Linked DNA regions of Homo sapiens: region 1 is linked to region 2. The links are contacts of gene promoters, found by promoter capture Hi-C in human tissues and cell types (Jung and others, 2019). All regions are on one chromosome and are shown on one strand. The core of a region is centred on a gene start or on the middle of the fragment in contact, and the rest is flanking DNA. Distances in the headings are between cores, read along the strand shown.

Region 1 (6,177 bases), core at 1,021-3,520, 280 kb after region 2:
GACAGTGATGAGAGGGGACAGAGATCAGGATCTAGAGAGAGCAAGAGATGGAGTGAGTCAGGAGAGAGAGAGAAAATAAGCAGATAGGCTTGAAATGAGCACACACAGATTTGAGGTATTGAGGGAAACAGCAGTCACTGCTCTTACAAATTCCAGCTGGGTGGTTTCCTACGTGTCTGCAGTAAAGCTCTTGCACAATAAATGAAGAAAATACTACATAAAAGTTTAAATTTTATTGGGTGTGAAGCTCTTAAAGAATTGCTATTCACTAAGAGTTTAAGGAAGACTTAGTTTGAATAAATGAACCCCAACTAAAGGAGTACCCACCTTCCGTTTTCTTTTCTTCATGATATCTATGTGTTTGTCTTCTTGATCACATTCCCTTGTCATGATGGTCCCCAGCCAGCTGGAGCAGAAATTCACCTGAGCAGACATGGAAGAAAAGGTTATGCTGGGAAACGAAACATAAATTTCACTCAGTAAGAGTAACTATCTACCAGAAATGGGAATGACAGAACGACCATAGGAAAAGAAATGGGAATAAACCTTCACATCAACGCTCGTCAGTGCTATTTGCTAACAGATGCATTGAGGTAAATGCTGTTACCTCAAGAAGTGTTATCTTCTGGGGATCCTTATCATAATTTTATTTTAAATTCGAACAGCTGTTGTTTAACTACCACAGACCACAATTTGTCTACAGCTTGGGACCATAAAGTTAGCTTTAATGCACTCTGTTTCTTTTCTCTCCCCTGTATTTGATTTAATTTCCGTGAATCTGACACTCACATGCTATATACCATTTGCATATTTCAATATGTACTTTTGCAGATCCCATAAGTATTCAGGTGCTAAATGTGAAAGAATAAATAAAAATGGAAGTTCCCAATGACAAATTATAAAAGGAAGGAAGAAGAACTCTCAGGTTTCACTTACATGTAAAATATTCTGAACAATAACAGCTCCTTCAGGACAACAAAGCAGGTTTTTCTAGGGTTGTTGGTTTATGGTGACTGTAGAAGAAAACGGATGTTTTTTTTGGCAGTGAAACACAGTACACTTATCTGAATTGAGCCCTAGGGCTTACCATATAGCAACGGACAGAGAACTTCAGCTTTATTTAAGAAATCAACAAATGTGGCCACTTCTATAACCTGAATGTTTTCTAAAATATTCATGGTTTTTCATTCATGGAATTTTAAAAAACTGAGGTTGCGGTTTCAAACAAAAGAAAATTCTAGGGAAGATAGGAGGGGAATAAAAAGTCACTCTTGGGGAAACCTTAAAAAAGATCCCTGTGGGCTACTGTAGCGTATTTAGCGAAGGCGCTTTGTCAGATAGGGCATGAACTAACCTAGAACTCGGGCAGTTACTGGACAGAAAATCAATTTTGGTCAGGGTTAGACGGGCCCAAGACTTGTTCTTTGGTCTTAACTACAGTATGTGAAAACTTCCAAGTAGACGTCAGAGGACTAAAAAAGCTTTTTCTTTTCTTAGTTCTTTAGGCTGGTTTGTACAGATTTCTGCAAGTCTGGGGAACCTTAAAACTTCCATCTCCTTTTCCATTCTTTGAGTTAACAGCAACATATTGGTAGCTGAGCTTCACAATGTTGAGCTCTCCAAGTTGTTTAGGGTGATCTTTAGGCCTCAGCCCTTTTTGAATCTTTGTTTGTTGTAATCAAGTTCCAGAAGGAAATGAGGTGCGATCCTTATTGCAAAAGAATGAGGCAGGCTCTGGGGCTCAGTGATTCACTTACTTGATTTGATTATTAGTTTTCTGGTAACAAATGGTTGGTGCTGGAATGCTGATTTCACAGGCACCCTCACACACGTTAGTAAAATCAACAAGTGTGAGAGAAGCATCCTCAATTGTAAGTTAACAGTAACAACACGATGCTCATACATGTCTTAAAGCTGGAACCCAAAAGCCAAATTATAGTGTATGTTTTATTTCTGAGCCAGTATTCCTCATGGAAATGGGAATAGTCCAAATAGAAACAAAGTAACAGTGAAAAAGTGGGAAGGATTTGCAGGGCAGAATTTGGGAATTTGATTTTGAAGTATGAAAACGATGTCACTATAATCAAGTTTGAATAGTGAGTACATTTTTGCCTCAAATTTTCATTGTATCTGCTTCCTATAGACCCTAGAATTGGAAATCATTGGAAAGGGGATTAGTTCCTTTTAAGGAGAGTTGCTTGATACCCCAAGTTTCATGAGAAAGTTCTAAGCTAATTTACCAGCCAAAGAGGGTGAGACAAGCTACTGTAATCATCACCTGGTACCTTTCCTTTGAAAGAGTCTGACAAATGTTAATTAAGGAAACCTCAGGATGCTTGCCCAGGACAGATAAGGGGTTAATTTCAGCACCTCTGGGAAGAAATGCGAGAGCACCTCTATGTCCTTTCTTCCCTTCTGAACAGCTCTCAGGTTCTTGACACAGAAAGTCTGGGCACAAAAGGAAAGGGAAAGGGAGAAAAGGGCCATTCATGAATGTCTGAAAGAACGCTGGCTGCTTCCCTGAGAGCGATGTGATTTGACTGTGGCGACGTCTCTTCTCTCACCCCAAGCCCAGGAGGGTTATCAGTGAGCAAGGCAGAGGGAGGATCTTGGTTCTATTTTACTTCATTCTGAAAAACTGGAATGTAGCATAAGAGCTAGTTGCATGGCACCCCAAATGCTGCTGAGCCTAATGTACTTTTGCAGATCCTAAATCTGCAAAGGTGCTAAATGTGAAAGAATAATTAAAAATGGAACTTCTCAATGACAAATTTTAAAAGGAAGGAAGAAGAACTCTCAGGTTTCGCTTACATGTAAAAGGAACCCACCATTGAATTAACCACAGTCATGGCTTCCTGCCCGAGTCTCCATGAGATGGCTCCCTATTGACTGTAGCCTCAGCCCAGCCCTGTCTATCTCAAGCCATTTCACACTGAATCATAGCACACAGGTCTGGGACTTGAGGATGCTTATCTGACTGAAGCTTAACTGAGATGAATCATCTTTATAAATCTATTTTGGTCCACTGATAATTGCTTTTTAAATGAAAGCTTTTTTTTTTTTTTTAGACAGAGTCTTGCTCTGTTGCCCAGGCTGGAGTGCAGTGGTGCAGTCTCGGCTGACTGCAACCTCTGCTTCCCGGGTTCAAGCGATTCTCCTGCCTCAGCTTCCCGAGTAGCTGGGACTACAGGCACCTGCCACCACGCCTGGCTAATTAAATGAAAGCTTTAAAAAGTCTTCTTAAAAATAGAGAACATGTTCCCTTTCTCATTCCTCTATAAGGTGTTGAAGTCAAGGAGCATTTTATCTTAGGAGGCAGATACTTATTTATTTATTTATTTATTTTTTATTATACTTTAATTTCTAGGGTACATGTGCACAACGTGCAGGTTTGTTACATATGCATACATGTGCCATGTTGGTGTGCTGCACCCGTTAACTCGTCATTTACATTAGGTATATATCCTAATGCTATCCGCACCCCCCCCAGCACCCCACCCCATGACATGCCCCAGTGTGTGATGTTCCCCACCCTGTGTCCAAGTGTTCTCATTGTTCAGTTCCCACCTATGAGTGAGAACATGTAGTGTCCTTGTGATAGTTTGCTCAGAATAATGGTTTCCAGCTTCATCCATGTCCCTACAAAGGACATGAACTCATCCTTTTTTATGGCTGCATAGAATTCCATGGTGTATATGTGCCACATTTTCTTAATCCAGTCTATCATTGATGGACGTTCGGGTTGGTTCCAAGTCTTCACTATTGTGAATAGTGTGGAGGCAGATATTTATATGGGATAAAGAGATCTTGTTTTTACTCTTAATGTGACTTGTTTTGTGTATATATATTCAATTTAGTTGTTGTTGGAGGTATTCTGCTGAATTTTTAACTCAGGACCCAGACATCTTTATTGCTGTTTTTTCTTAGTGTGCTGAGAATCTTAAGAATATAAAGAAAAACTTTTCATTGCTAAGGGGTGTGTGTGTGTGTGTGTGTGTGTGTGTGTGTGTGTGTGTGTCAGAGAGAGAGAGGGAGAGGAAAAATGAGAATGAGAATTTTTGATGTGCAGAAGATGAACTGTGCTGGACATTAATGGATTAATTTTTAGCAGTATAAGAGATTTATACAGATCAAGCCACAATCAATTTGGCTGTGGGGATTGGGGAAATTTTCATGATAGCTGAAATGAATAGAACTGCTATGTTGTGGACTTATTTGTATAAATAGCTTGGAAACGGTCTTTTGTTCATCTATGAATTATACTCGGTCATGTATTTTATACCCTGATACTGTATATCTCATAAGAGGCATGAAGTTGATCTGTGGACCGGCTGTATGTTTTGGGGTGTTTTTACATGGCTCAAATAAAAATTCATTTATATACTCATTTAGTACAGATGGAATGAAGTATACAAAGATGAGTAAGTCATAGGCACAGTCAAGAACTGTAAAGGGCCTGTAAGCAAAGTGTTAACTGTAAACAGGCGAGCCTACCACAGTTTCATAGATGTTGGTAGAAGACATGAGATTCTTGGGTCAGAAACAAAGGATTTTATTAGTCACAGCAATGACAGTAGCCAGAATTTGCCTTGGTTCCCTGAACCATAACTCTCACAGTGCAACATGAAGAGGGCCAGGTGACCCTGCACGTGAAGAGAGTTGCATTGTAGAAGAACCCTGAATTTAGGAAACCTGGATCTTCTATAACAAGCAGTGAATATGCCTGCTCTTTATCTTGGAGGGAGAAATTATCCTTATTATACTGGACCATAAGCCCCAGACTCCAAAAGGAGACACTATCTTCCAAAACTGTTTGCTATACATCCCGGAACAAAGACAGTCAGGTGCAGGAACATGAGAGACCTGTGGAAGATGTTTTTAAAATCTCCACTTGTAGAAACAATCTCCCTTGTTTCTACACCCCTGCTTCTGGCAAATTTAGGCATGAGTATGCCACTCCATCTGCTGCTCTGGTCAATCTGACCAATAGAGGCTGGGGCCAAATCCATTCAATTTACCTCATATAGTATTTAATTAAAATTATTATCAACAGGACTTCAAGCAGCAGGATGAGGCCATCCTGCAGTATTAACCTCACCGTGACTTAAAGGGTTCCGGATTCCATAAGCTGAACAAGTTCAATGAATCATCCAGATCTATCTTATAGCCAGGTAGTATTCTCCTTTAGTTTCCACAGTGGCTTTTCTCCTCAGTCCAAGGCATTCATCCAGATGCAGCAGGATGTATTAGTGATTGCACAGACTTGTCCTGGCCTGCAAAAAGGAAGCTTGGGGCAGTTGTACTATCCATAACAACCCTGGCCTTTCTTTTTTTTTTTTTTTTGAGACTGAGTCTCGCTCTGTCGCCCAGGCTGGAGTGCAGGGGCGCGATCTCATCTCACCGCAAGCTCTACCTCCTGGGTTCATGCCATTCTCCTTCCTCAGCCTCCCGAGTAGCTGGGACTACAGGCGCCCGCCACCAAGCCTGGCTAATTTTTTGTATTTTTAGTAGAGATGTTGTTTCACCGTGTTATCCAGGATGGTCTCGATCTCCTGACCTCGTCATCTGCCTGCCTTGGCCTCCCAAAAAGTGGGATTACAGGCGTGAGCCACTGCGCACAGCCAACCCTGGCCTTTCAAAGCATAAGTTTTGCATATATTTTGTTAAATTTATTCTTAAATATATATATTTTCGATGTTCTTAAAACAAGAAATGTTTTCTTTCTTTTTTTTTTCCCGAGATGGTGTCTCACTCTGTCACCCAGGCTGGAGTGCAGTGGTGTAATCTCAGCTTACTGCAACCTCTGCCTCCTGGGTTCAAGCAATTCTCCTGCCTCAGCCTCCCCAGTAGCTGGGAGTACAGGTGTCTGCCACCATCCCCGGCTAGTTTTTGTGTTTTTAGTAGAGACGGGGTTTCACTATGTTGGCCAGGCTGGTCTCAAACTCCTGACTTCAGGTGATCGGCCTGCCTCCGCCTTCCAAAGTGCTGGGATTACAGGCGTGAGCCACCATGTCTAACAAGAGTTGTTTTCTCAGTTTCATTTATGGATTGTTCATTGCAATCATATTGAAATACAATTTATTTTTGTATGTTGATGTTGTATCCTGCAACCTTGCCAAATTGATTTATTAGTTTTAATAATTTCAATATGATTCTGTAGAATTTTCTATATATAAG
Region 2 (6,252 bases), core at 3,164-5,663:
CCGGCGGGGACCAGTCGCCAGGAGCGCAGAGCCGCGATGTCCATACTTGCCAAAATGGGGGACTGGCAGGTACGGGGGGTTTGCCTTGGCTGGGGTTGAGGTGGGCAGGGGTGGAGTAGGGGAGGGGGCCGGAGCGGGGAGGAGGAGAGGAAGCGCCGTGGCCCAGGGCAGGGGAGTCGTAGGTGAGGCGCGCCTGGCAGCGCCCAGGAGAGCTCCCAGGAGACAGCGAAGACAGGAAAAACGGGCGCAGGCAGCGACTGCGGTGCTGGGCGCAAAGCGCGCAGCCCGCGGGGCCCGGCGCCGGGGAAGTCCGGCGCACGCTCCACAGGTGGCCTGGTGGGTCACTTGTGGTTTGTGCTGTGGCCGTTTCCCCCACCCCCCTCCCACCTCAAGTAGAAACTTGGGAGGATGACTAATTCGGAAGGGGGGAGGGAGAAGGCCTGGGGTTGTGGTGCGCGGCGGTGAAGGTTTTCAGCCTGCTGCGCCTGCGGCCTCGCCCTAGACCCCAGGGTTGAGTGTTGGACAGGTTCTGGTGCACCTGTCTCTCTTGGTACCCCCAGATTTCGGGAGATCTAGGATGTGTGAAGAATGGAAAGGGGTCCAGATGGCTGGGTCGCGGAGGCAGCGTGTTTCTGTAGGAGATACAAAGTTTGCCCGAAGTTTAGCTAGCAACTCACTCCACTTCCTGAAATGGGTTTTTGCCGCCTGGGCTACGGATGAGGGAGTGTGAGAATGGTGGGTGAGGAGGCAGGGGGGTGGTGAATTTGCCAAAACCAACGCCTGTGGAACTTGGCCCTGCTAGGCCGCGGACACCACAAGGCATCCAAGGCTTGGCTCCTGTCCTTCCTGAGCCCCGGATTCCGACCCTGGCCAAGGAAGCATTTGTCCAGCTCTCTCCTTCCAACTTCCAGACACTTTCCCTTCGGGAAACAGAGCGGCTCTGGCCAGGATGGTGGCGGTAAAAGGCTCTGCCTGTCGCCGATTTCATCATCAGAACCGCGAGGCCCTGTTTTCGCCCCAACCAAGAGGCCTGGTGAGGGTGAGATTCTGTGTGCCCAAAAGCCCAGGGGACAATTCGAATCTAATGCCCTGAACTTCCCCCCAAAAATCTGAGGCCTTGCTACTCCTGGTCGAGTTCTTTCTCTTGTTTCAGATTTAGGCCATTAAAAGTAAAGTTCTGAGAAGTGCAGTCTTCACTAAGCTACCTGGAGTTGGAGAAAGAAAGGCCTTTTGCGTTCTGTACTTTTTTCCCTTGGATTTATTACTTTTATCAAGAGTGAGCTCTTTTATATTCTTCTCCCTAGTTAAGCCTCACTAAATGGTATTTCATCCGCAAGTTTAGACAAACCTCGTGGTTTAAGGATGCAAATCCCATACCAGAGACAAATCCCGGGAATCCACACCTTTCCCTTCCTGACCCTGTGGGCTAAAGGCCCTTCCTAACTCTCTTATTTGGAGGCTGAAGACTGGGGGAGTCCTTTCGGAGCAGTCTTTGGGTTTTCTCCTCAAATTCCAGTGAATTTCGCTGCAGAATTCCTAGGCCGTGAGAAGGTGCCTGTTGAGTAGGTTTGGCCTGGGACTGGGCCTTCTGTGGGTTCGACTAAGGTTTGAAAGCCGCGAGACTGCCGCAGGAGGAGGAAGGAGGGAGCCGCGGGCCTGGCTCTTGCGGGCTCACAGTTAGGCAAGTGGCTGGAGGCCTGGATCTCGGGTGGGGCGAGCGGATTTGGGGCCCGGAGGGGCCGAATCTGATGGGCTGGGCCTGTTGGGCTCCCGGCTCCCACTGGGCATTGACAATCGGAGAAAAGAGAGTCGTTCTGGCCCCTCACTGTCTCTTTCTCTTTGTGACTCTGTCTCTCACACAAATACTCCCTCTTCCCCGCGACGCCCTTTTTATGCCCCCCACGTCAGGCCTGGATCTCCGACCTCCAACCCCAGGCCTGGCGCTGCTGTCCCGGGGTTCTGGCCCCGCCGGAGCATTGACATGCAATGAAGCGACTTAGCGTGGTAATGACGCTGGCATAAATGCAGCTCGGCTGGCTCCAGAGGCGACCCTGGCGCTCGCCCGGGCCTTTCATCAGCGCCTACACCGGGGGCGGCAGTCCAGAGCCGGCAGGTCCCAATCTGCACCTCAATGGCGCCCTCGGCGGGAATACAACAACAGTTTAGCAGCCCCAGCGGGTGCGGAGCCGGAGATCTGTTGGGCGCGGGGCAGCGGGGAGGTGGAAACGGGGGTTGAAATGGGGTGGCAGAGGATGGAGGGCGGCCTTTCCAAGCCCGCAGAGGGCAAGAAAGCGAAACTTGGAGTTCCCTTAAGCACACCGCGGCGACGTCTACGGAGTGTAAAAACCCATGCTCTCAGGCCTAGGGTTTGGCCTGCTCAGGCTATGGCCGCTGCTGGGAGGGTGTCGGTGCTCCTGGCAGCCCAGATCCTGACTTCAAACCACTGCACTGGCGACAGGCTGGGACAGCCCTGCAGGGTCTAGCCCTGGAAAGTCGACCATTTTCTGGACGGAGGGCGGCGCCAAGCCTCCAGCCCGGTTCAGCCGAGGAATTGTGCTCAGTTCAGGTAGGGCAAGGGAGGCCCAGAGCATGGGGAGGGCTTCCTGGGTCTGTAAGGCCCCTTGCCAGCTCCGGCTTCTCCCTAGCTTTTTGGAGCCTTCTGCCTACTCTGCTAGGTTTGGGGAGTTTGCTGAGGTGTTTGGAGGGAGAATTCCCCTTCTGCAGCCTTGGGTGGAATGGGGAGTTCTCCCAGCTCCTGCCTTCCTTCCACCTGTGAGGGAATGCTCCAATCTGCCACAGTTCCCATCCCCTTTTAGGAACGCCCGGTGGAAATATGGGAGGCCTGGAGATTTTCGAGAAACAAGCCCAGATGAATCAAAGGTCCTTACTAGAGCAACTCTGAGGCGGGACCTAGTGTAGTTAAGGAGTTTGTACATATAGCAGAGAGAAAAGACAGAGGTAACTTTCTTTTGGAGGACAAACGAGGAAGCTCAGCCAGGAAAATTAATTACTCTGTATTTCCTAGTGTCACATTAGGTCCTTTTCTTTTTTTTTTTTCTTACTTAAAAAAAAATCCCAAAACCGAAAGGGATAAAAGCCCCAGAGGACCCAGCAGGCCCCGGTGAGGAGTCCAAAAGCCCGGACTGACCAGTCTGGACGAGTAGGTGGCTCCCAGGCCTCCAGGTTCCGCGGCAGCCGGGCTCTGCCTCGCGAGCACGCCCGCGTTAGTAGCATCACCAAATCATGAAGGAACTCTCCCTGCTTTAATTAAAAAGGGGAATCTTGGGAAAACTAGAGCAGATTAACACAGCTAAAAGTCGGTTCCCGGTGATTTATTTTGATGCACGCACGAGACGGTATCTAGACTTGCAGGCACACACACGTCTGTTTTTAGGCTCAACTTCAGAAGCGGGTGTGCAGTTCCATAGGAGTTCTGTATTCGTGTCCACGTTGCACCCAGGAAACCTTAGCCTGAACACCAATTTGAACTGTCAGTTGGCCCTAGCTTCACACAAACAGGAGAAAAATTGTTTAACCCCTGGAGCTGTCAAGTAACCTCTTCAGGGTACAACTTTTATTTTACACGCTGCAATTAAGGGATTGCAAACCCCAGCAGAGCCACCGGAGCCGCTTGGCAGAATCTCCAACCTGGGGGAAAGCTCAAAGCCAATAAAACTCCCAAGGCGCTGCGGCCCGAGGGGGTGGCTGCCTCGAGCGGAGGCGATCCCTTGTTGGGAAAAAATCCTGGAGTGACTTCGCCGGTCTTGGTTTGGTGGTTATGTTTAATTGCGAAAGGGATAATGATTTCTAATAAAATTGCACGGGGCCAAAAGGGCAGCTCGGATCGTGGTAGCAGGGTTAAGGGAGAAGTGCTAGAAGCTGGGCCCCAGGCGTGGCGCTTGGACCTTGAGCAGTGCCGGGCTTTGCAGAAGGCATCTCTGGAGAAAAGGAAGCGGAGAAAGAAAGGAAGGGGAATGTGGCGGAATTGGGGTAAGAGAGGGGGTGTTGGGGCAGGGCCTCGCGGCGGAGCTCGAGGAAGGTTTTATCAGTTCGCAGGCTGGAGTGCGCTCTAGAAGCAAGTTCGCGGCGTAGAGAGGCCTTTATACCTGTGTCGGAGCGGCCGGCGGCAGATTGTGGTACTGGCGAGCAATTGGACTATTGTTGATATGCTAATGAGGCGATTAGGCTGTTGGTAAAGAGCTGGAAAAGGGAAAAGTTTCTACCATTAGAGGGAGATCTCCGAGCGCACACGGGAGCTCTTTCCCTTCTCTCCTCCTCCTCGCCCTTCTCCTCGCCCTCCTCCTCCTCCTCGCCCTCCTCTTCCTCCTCCTCCTCCTTGCCCTCCTCCTCTCCCTCCTCCTTCTCCTCCTCCACCTCCTCTCCCTCCTCCTCCTCCTCCTGCGCTCACCGCCGGCAGCCAGCACTTTGCGCTCACCCAGAGAGTAGCTCCACTTGGGTGCGAGACCGAGAGGGGCATATCCGTTCACGCCGATCCATGAAAATGCTTTGGAAATTGACGGATAATATCAAGTACGAGGACTGCGAGGTAAGCGCGACGCCGGCTCGATCATCCGTGCGGTCACAGGCTCCGAGCTTGACCCTCCCTCTCCTCCTCCTCTCCTTGCAACCAGCTGCGAAACGCGGGTGGGACAAACTTTCCCCAGCGCAGCGCCCGTCCCTCGGATTCGCCCGAAGAACGCGGGGGAGAAGCTGCAGAGAGAGGACGTGGATGCTCCCTTCTTTGGTTTCCCTACTTTGAAGCTCGTGTCCCACTTTACTCCCCTTTCTGACCAATTTTGGCTGTGCCTAAGAATGGGGGAAAAGAAGAACATGGGCTTTTGAAGCAATTGCTGGCAACTGGGCACTTGCCTGTGCACTCCTCGTGTTATCTTCATCGAGATTGAGGGCCCAAGTCACCAGGAACAGAAAGGAAAGAGAAAACTCTTTTCTCTCTTGAACTTCCTCTCCGATCTTTAATATTCCTTCTTCTTTCTATTCATTCATTCATTCATTCATTCATTCTTTCTTCCCCCCACCCCCACTTCTAAAGCGGTTCCCTTCTCGGCTTTAGAGACGGCCCCCCCACACTTCGCTGTGAGCTGGGCTGCATCTTCCTGTAAGCGGGTTCAACTTAAGACCACTGATCCCAGCTGCGGGGCTCGCTCCAGATCCTCTGTGCTTCACGAAGTTCTAAGTAGCTTCTCCCTCTGAGCTACAGGATCGACGCACCCCACGGGGGTGTGTGGGGGTGGGGTGGGGAGATGTGCTGCGCCGAGCCTGCTGGCCGCTGGGTGCGGGAGCACCAGCTTCTGCACCAGCCCAGAACGACCGTGGGAATCCTTGCGCGGCTGCAGACCACCTCTGGTGCCGCAAGCCCGCTGGGCCGACAGAGCGCGCCGCTTTGGAACCCATTTTAAAACGCAGAGTCCCCTGAGCTCGCCTTCTTGAGGCAGCAAGGGAGACCCTAGCGCGACCTGTCCACCCGCAGGAGGCGCTGGGAACGGTTACAACCAACACTGTAATGAGCAATGAGTCCGAGAGAGGGGTTGGGGTGTGTAGGGCTGGAGATTACCTAAATAAATAGGTGGCAGTCCCAACTTTTGCTGTTTTTTTTTTTTTTCTTTTTTGGCATTTGCAGCTGAGAATGTTAGGCAGGAGGTGTGTGTGCAGGCGCAGGGGCGGAGATCTTGACTTCACTCGAAACCAGAAATTGGGTTTATGTGAACGATGTGTCACCCGCTCCCTCCTCCCTTTTCTTTCTGAAGATTATTTTAAATCGTTCTCCTTTCAGGCCCCCCACCCCGGTAGATGGGGACGGGGTGACATCCCACGGGTACTGGCTCTTCCCTGGGGGGGTCCTGTCGCGCTAGAGGAGGGGCGCAGGGACCCCACGTCAGACCAGTCGCTTTGTTTTCGAGGCTGGGGGCGAGCTTTGCGGGCAGGTAGGAATGAAGCCGAACCCCTCAGTCTCATAGGACAATTCATACTGTACTGGTCTGGGCTTTGGCCGGAGGCTTGGGCATTTCACTTTCGCAGAGGCCGAAACCCAGCTCCAGGTGTGGGCGCCCTCGGCGGGCGGGGTCCGAACCTCCGTGCGGCTCTAGGTGCCGACTGGATGGGGTGGGTGGCTAGGTGGGGGATGAACTTGCACCCCTAGAGGGATCCTGTGGGGGCAAGTGTGAATGCGTGTGTAAGCGAGGCAAAAAAAGATGAGAGAGAGAGGAGAATAAAGTCAAAGCTGTTTCCACAACT

What was found. Contacts are between HindIII fragments. The study calls those that stand out against the background at their distance.
Region 1: a fragment that was not itself captured here is called in contact with the fragment with the promoter of TFAP2A in region 2 in 1 of the 25 tissues and cell types used here (H1 embryonic stem cells).

What each region holds. Positions count from the first base shown.
Region 1 is chr6:10,135,867-10,142,043 of GRCh38, reverse strand. LOC124900218 (a long non-coding RNA gene) reads left to right here and starts at 1,360. Exons shown (of 5, transcript XR_007059909.1): 1 at 1,360-2,096. LOC105374918 (a long non-coding RNA gene) reads right to left here and starts at 1,258. Exons shown (of 3, transcript XR_926456.3): 1 at 937-1,258; 2 at 328-423. It also overlaps the pseudogene OFCC1. The HindIII fragment of the contact is 3,973 bases long and covers 284-4,256 here.
Region 2 is chr6:10,413,235-10,419,486 of GRCh38, reverse strand. TFAP2A (transcription factor AP-2 alpha) reads left to right here and starts at 4,413. Exons shown (of 7, transcript NM_001372066.1): 1 at 4,413-4,546. The coding sequence starts at 4,496. TFAP2A-AS1 (TFAP2A antisense RNA 1) reads right to left here. Exons shown (of 3, transcript NR_033910.1): 2 at 4,436-4,806; 3 at 3,318-4,200. RefSeq lists enhancers at 1-579, 1,898-2,555, 2,556-3,213, 3,872-4,531, 4,532-5,189. The HindIII fragment of the contact is 28,400 bases long and covers 1-6,252 here.